Regions from separate parts of the Homo sapiens genome. Here region 2 is linked to region 1. The links are contacts of gene promoters, found by promoter capture Hi-C in blood cells and fetal thymus (Javierre and others, 2016). All regions are on one chromosome and are shown on one strand. The core of a region is centred on a gene start or on the middle of the fragment in contact, and the rest is flanking DNA. Distances in the headings are between cores, read along the strand shown.

The links. Contacts are between HindIII fragments. The CHiCAGO score rates a contact against its expected background, and 5 or more counts as called.
Region 2: a contact is called between a fragment that was not itself captured here and the fragment with the promoter of C22orf15 in region 1, in 2 of 17 cell types (monocytes and neutrophils). The highest score is 5.2, in monocytes.

The regions. Positions count from the first base shown.
Region 1 is chr22:23,761,238-23,764,444 of GRCh38, forward strand. It overlaps C22orf15 (chromosome 22 open reading frame 15), which reads left to right and starts at 1,753. Exons shown (of 6, transcript NM_182520.3): 1 at 1,753-2,094; 2 at 2,850-2,936; 3 at 3,023-3,160. The coding sequence starts at 2,070. The HindIII fragment of the contact is 2,909 bases long and covers 1-1,791 here.
Region 2 is chr22:24,571,939-24,575,145 of GRCh38, forward strand. SNRPD3 (small nuclear ribonucleoprotein D3 polypeptide) reads left to right here. Exons shown (of 4, transcript NM_004175.5): 4 at 1-3,033. The coding sequence ends at 39. Among named protein-coding and RNA genes, the nearest start is that of SNRPD3, 18 kb to the left of the region's middle. The HindIII fragment of the contact is 203 bases long and covers 1,552-1,754 here.

The DNA.
Region 1 (3,207 bases), core at 503-3,002:
TAGCCAGGTGTGGTGGCACATGCCTGTAATCCCAGCTACTTGGGACGCTGGGGCAGGAGAATCGCTTGAACCCAGGAGGCGGAGGTTGCGGTGAGCTGAGATTGCACCATTGTACTCCAGCCTGGGCAACAAGAGCAAAACTCTGTCAAAAAAAGAAAGGAAGGAAGGAAGGGAGGGAGGGAGAGAGGGAGGGAGGAAGAGAAAGGAAAAAAGGGAAAGGAGGGAGGGGAGGGGAGGGGAGAGGAGGGGAGGGGAGAGAGAATGTGAAGCCTAGACAGAAAAGGAAGACGGAGAGGAGGGGAACAAGAAGGGGAGAGACTGGGAGAAGCAGACAAATACAAAAGACACGAAATGGCCGAAATGGCCGGGCACAGTGGCTCATTCCTATAATCACAGCACTTTGAGAAGCTCAGGCAGGTGGATCACCTGAGGTCAGGAGTTCGAGACCAGCCTGGCCTTCCTTATGTCTACTAAAAATACAAAAAATTAGCCAGGGGTGGTGGCTGGCGCCTGTAATACCAGCTACTCCGGAGGCTGAGGCAGGAGAATCGCTTGAACCCGAGAGGCGGAGGTTGCAGTGAGCCGAGATTGCGCCACTGCACTGCAGCATGGCTGACAGAGCGAGACTCATTCTCAAAAAAAAATAAATAGGTCAGGCTTGGTGGCTCAGCACTTTGGGAGGCCAAGATGGGCGGATCATTTGAGGTCAGGAGTTCGAGACCAATCTGACCAATATGGTGAAACTCCATCTCTATTAAAAATACAAAAAAAGGCCGGGCGCAGTGGCTCACGCCTGTAATCCTGTAATCCCAGCACTTTGGGAGGCCGAGGCGGGCAGATCACGAGGTCAGGAGATTGAGACCGTCCTGGCTAACATGGTGAAACCCCGTCTGTACTAAAAATACAAAAAAAATTAGCTGGGCGTGGTGGCGAGCGACTGTAGTCCCAGCTACTCAGGAGGCTGAGGCAGGAGAAAGGCGTGAACCCGGGAGGCGGAGCTTGCAGTGAGCCGAGGTCACACCACTGCACTCCAGCCTGGGCGAGGGAGCGAGACTCCGTCTCAAAAAAAAAAAAAAAAAAAAAAAAAACTAGCCAGGTGTAGTGGTGCACACCTGTAGTCCCAGTTACTTGGGAGGCTGAGGCAGGAGAATCGCTTGAACTCGGGAGGCGGAGGTTGCAGTGAGCCGAGATCGTACCACTGCATTCTAGCCTGGGTGACAGGGAGACTCCATCTCAAAAAATAAAAATTTAAAAAACACCAATAATAATAATAATTAATAAACTTAATAAATAAATAAATAAAAGACAGGAAATGACGGTGAGAACCGGTGTGAGGGACTAGCTAGTGGCCAGTGCTAACAAGGAGGTGCTTGTGACCTGCTATGGACCTGGAAGCGACTAGGGCTGAGTACAAAGGGGGCAAAGGAATTTGGGGGTGATGGAAATGTTCTGTATCTTGACTGTGGTGGTGGTTATATGAGAGTTGGCATAACTTTAAAACACCAGAAAGGGTGAACTTTACTGTACAAGTGGTTCACAACTGCAATCCCAGCACTTGTGGGAGGCTGGGGCTGGAGAATTGCTTGAGCCAAGTTCGAGACCAGCCTGGGCAACATAGGGAGACTGTCTCTAAAAAAAATCAATCCCAATGATGGCATTCCCCGCCTCAGGGAATGCCAGCCCCCACTTCTTCTGTCACCTCTCCCCCATGGGCCCCGTTAACGGATACAGGGAGGAAGGCATTTCCTGCCTAGATGTCTCCGCCCCCACTGCCATGGAGACCAGCTTGGAAGCTTAGGGGAGCTGCTGTGGCCCAGGGCTCAGTGGGGAGGAAGAGGAGGCCAGGAGTCTTGGACTAGCTGCAGGGTTTGAGCTAGGCTGAAGCAGCAGAACCACAGAGGTGGCTGAGCAGGGGCCTGGCCCTGGGACCCAGCCATCCACACTCACACATCCACTTCTCCCTCCAGAGCCCGGCCCTGAAGCAGGTCTCTGCTCCACGCTTTTCCTTAGTTGGGGAATCGAGAGTTGGGGGATCAAAGCCCCCCACATCTCCCTCACCCGCTGCAGCTATGTTTATCAAGGTGATGTTTGGGGGTAAGTGGGGTCCCCTGTCTTGGTAGGCGGATAGGGGGATGAGCACACTCAGAGGCGTGCTTCCTTCCGCCCTTGCGGTGGGTGGGGAGGCAATGGCGGGAAAGGGGGGTGGTGCACATGGCGGGGGTCGTCGGGGAAGCGGCTCTGTGAGGAGGCGAAGCCAGCACCTGGAGCGAGTCCCTTAAAGGGAAAACCCGAGCTGAGTCCTGCTCATTCACAAGGGTTCCTCTCGGCCAGAGACCGCCGCATTACCCTGGAGCAGGTTTTTAAGCCGCACAATCTCTTCGCCATTCAATCCGTGATCCTCAAGCTTCAGCGTGCATCAGACACCTGAAACTCTAGCCACAGTTGCAGGGTCCCCGTGCCTCTGGCTGGAGGCGGGTCGGCCCTGTGCGGTAGCGGAAGGGAAGAGAGGAGCCGGTGGGTGCGGAGGGCGGGGACTGGCTGGGTCCCGTGGGGGCGGGTCCCGGGAGGAGGCTGGGCTGGCGCCCACTTCGTGCTTTGCAGGACTCAAGAGACCAACACTTGGGAGTCACCACACATGGGAGAAAAGTCACCACACATGGGAGATGGATGGAGGGTTCTCCAAGGCAGTTTAAGCAACAGATGTTGGAGCTGTTATGCCCGGGGCACAGTCTTAGCCCATAGGCCCAGTCGCAGCTCTGGGAAAGGGAGAGATGGGAGGGAGAGACAGAGGACCCCGATTTGGAGGAAGGTAAGAGATCTCACAGGCTCACCTTTGCCCCTCTCCACAGCTGGCTGCTCGGTGCTGGTGAACACCTCTTGCAGGCTGGTGAACCTCACCGCCCACCTGAGGCAGAAAGCAGGGTTGCCCCCAGATGGTGAGGAGACAGGGAGGAGAAGGAGGGGCTGAGGGGTCCCAGGCAGGGGTGCCAGCCCTGCCCAGTCTCTCTCCATGTCCTCCCAGCGACCATTGCTCTCCTGGCTGAGGATGGCAACCTAGTGAGCCTGGAGGAGGACCTGAAGGAAGGGGCTTCCCGGGCCCAGACCATGGGCAACTCCCTACTGAAGGAGCGAGCCATATATGTCCTCGTTCGGATCATCAGTAAGGTGGCCCAAGGTTCTCTCCCCTGCAGCTATGGTAGAATGTAA
Region 2 (3,207 bases), core at 403-2,902, 810 kb after region 1:
GGAATGGGACGTGGAAACATCTTTCAAAAGCGAAGATAATTTTCTAAGTTGAACAGAACTTTGTCCTTTTTTCTTTCAGGTTATCTGAGTTCATTGGAGTGGGTGCTTGTGCATATATGCTAGGTATCTTTTGCCATCTTTCTCTTTAGATCAGGGGAAATGTTTAAGCTAAATAAATCTGGGGGGTTTTTTGTTCTGTTTTGTTTTGTTTTCTTTGAGAAAATAAGGACTTTGTGTTCATTTGAAGTTTGCTTTGGCTAAATTTTGACACCCTGGGGGATGTCCTGGGAGAATGCCAGTACTTTGAAATAGCACAGCTATTGATGAGATTTTAAGCTGCTGTTCCTGGCCAGTTGCAGGTTAAGCCCCAGAAAAGTTCACCTTGGAGAAGCTCCGAGAACACACAGATTGTGTCTCATTCATCTTCAGACACAGGCACATAGTGTGGCACTTTGTTCAGTTAACATTTGTGGAGCTGTCATCAGCTCAGCTTTAACAACACAGGTGACTCTTTCCCTTGATAAAGTCATAGGTAATTCAGGGGCTGGGTGCGGCGGCTCACGCATGTAATCCCAGCACTTTGGGAGGCCAAGGCGGGCGGATCACGAGGTCAGGAGTTCGAGACCAGCCTGGCCAATATGGTGAAACCTCGTGTGTACTAAAAATAAAAAAATTAGCCGGGTGCGGTGGCATGTACCTGTAGTCCCAGCTACTCGGGAGGCTGAGGCAGAAGATTCGCTTGAACCCAGGAGGTGGACATTGCAGTGAGCAGAGATCATGCCACTGTACTCCAGCTTGGGTGACAGAGCGAGACTGCACCTCAAAAAAAAAAAAGTAATTCAGGGGATCCTAGTGGCCAGCTTCCTTGGCTCGTATACTGGCTACAACAAGTAGTTTTGTGGTGATTTGTGGAAACAGATTCTTGGGAGCATATCAGAGCATCTCAGCATTGATTGGCACATCCATAGTTGTTAATGTAGGAAGGGTGACCAGCAGCTCAGCACAGTGGCTTGCTTCCAGCACTCTGGGAGGCTGAGGTAGAGGATTGTTTGAGAGGAGTTCAAAACCAGCCCGCGAGACATAGTGAGACCCTGTCTCTACAAAAAATTCTAAAAATTAACTTGGCATGGTGGTGCACACCTGTAGTCCTCGCTACTAGGGAGGCTGAGGTGGGAGGATCACTTGAGCCTGGGAGTATGAGGCTGCAGTGAGCTATGACCTTGCCACTGTACTCCAGCCTGGGCAAAAGAGCAAGACTTTGTCTTTAAAGAAAAATAAGTAGTAGTAAAGAGTATAAGATACACAGGGTGAATAATTGTGACAAAAACACAGAAACTGGAAAAGCAGCCTGAAAAAATCAAATCACCAAAAAGAGGTCTTGCCAGGTATTCATTATGGTATGAGCTACAGCATAAGCCATCAAGAGGAAAACTGATCAATTATTGGCTTTTAGAATATTGCTCATTGAACAGATTATTCAAGTAATGAAAGAGGAGGGGAAAAAAATCCAGCACATTAGTTAACCTGGCATCAATTAATGAGGTTCTAATAAGCTTTGTCTTATGATACTACCTGGAGGTTACAGAGCTGGTATTCTGAGGAATAAGCATCAGTGAGTTGGTCAGATACAATAGACGTTTAAAATAGGGCTTCAGGCCAAACATGGTGCCCCACGCCTATAATGCCAGCACTTTGGGAGGTCGAGGCGGGAGGATCACTTGAACCTAGGAGTTTGAGACTAGCCTGGGCTGTTAAGCTTTGTTAACCAAGACCGCATCTCTACAAAAAATTGAAAAGTAGCTGGGCACAGCTGATGCCTGCAGTCCCAGCTATCCTGGAGGTTGAGGCAGGACGACCACATGAGCCCAGGAGATTAAGGCTGCAGTGAGCTATAATTGCACCACTGCACTCCAGCCTGGATGACAGTGAGACCCTGTCTCTTAAATAAAAAACAAATGAAAGCAGTGGTTTTCAACATCAACTAAGGATCTTATTAGAAATGAAGACTGCAAGCCGCACACCTGGAGTGGGGCCCAGGAATCTGCATTTTAAACAATTCCCTGGTCCCCAGATAAGTAATTCTTAAGTATTCTATCTTAAGTAGACCTAAAGCCGTATTTTGACCCTGTACTAGTATGTTATTTTAGTATAATCATTACTGAATTCATCATACTTTTACAGTAAACAGTACTTACTTTGAATAATAACACATTACACTTAATAGTAGTGAACTGCATCCTCGATATCAAAAGCGACTTTTGATGTAGTTCACTCTGGACCCGTACAGGAACACCAGCCTTGCAGATTCTCCACGCAATGGAAACTGGCTATAACCCTACCTAGATCTGAAAAGTGAAGGGGGATCAACCTAAAATATGTAGCTTTGTAAACAGTTTTATATCCTGCATCTTAGGGGGGAAAATCAGTTGACGCAGATTGAAAACAAGTTGTTCCATAAGGTTTATTATGAAAAACAGTAGCCCTCCTACCCTGCCTTTACCCCACTTTCCTTGCCTCACAGTAGTCTGTCCAACTCTTGGCTGATTTGTTTGTATTTACCTCCATGTCTCAATATGAACATGTTTTCATGACTATTCCTTGATGGTTTTTTGTTTGCTTGTTTTAAGACGGTCTCACTCTTCCCCAGGCGGGAGTGCAATGGCACAATCATGGCTCACTGCAGCCTCAACCTTCTCGGGCTCAGGTGATTCTCCCACCTCAGCCTCCTGAGTAGCTAGAAATACTGGTGCACACCACCATGCCTAGCTAATTTTTGTATTTTTTGTAGAGACAGGGTTTTGCCATGTTGCCCAAGCTGGTCTTGAACTCCGGGGCTCAAGTGATCTGCCCGCCTCGGCCTGCTGGGATTATAGGTGTGAGCCACTGCACCCGGCCACCATTATCTTTTGAATCCTCTCTTCCTCCTGCCCACCATGAATTTACTTCCTCTCACCCATCTCCCTGATATTGTAATTCTGGTTAGATCATATTCAGTGTCAAATTATTAAGATGTGATTAAACTTTTTAAAAATATGACAGTGTCATAGTGATCACAGCTGAGTCATACAATAGACTAGATTACTGTGGAACTTTTCCCTGAAAGTAATCCTCTTGCATTTTTATTTGCTTGGTTTTCTATTTGTCACTAATTCAACCCCAATCATATCTGAAGATCATGACATCATTTATCAGTTATTATTCTTGACC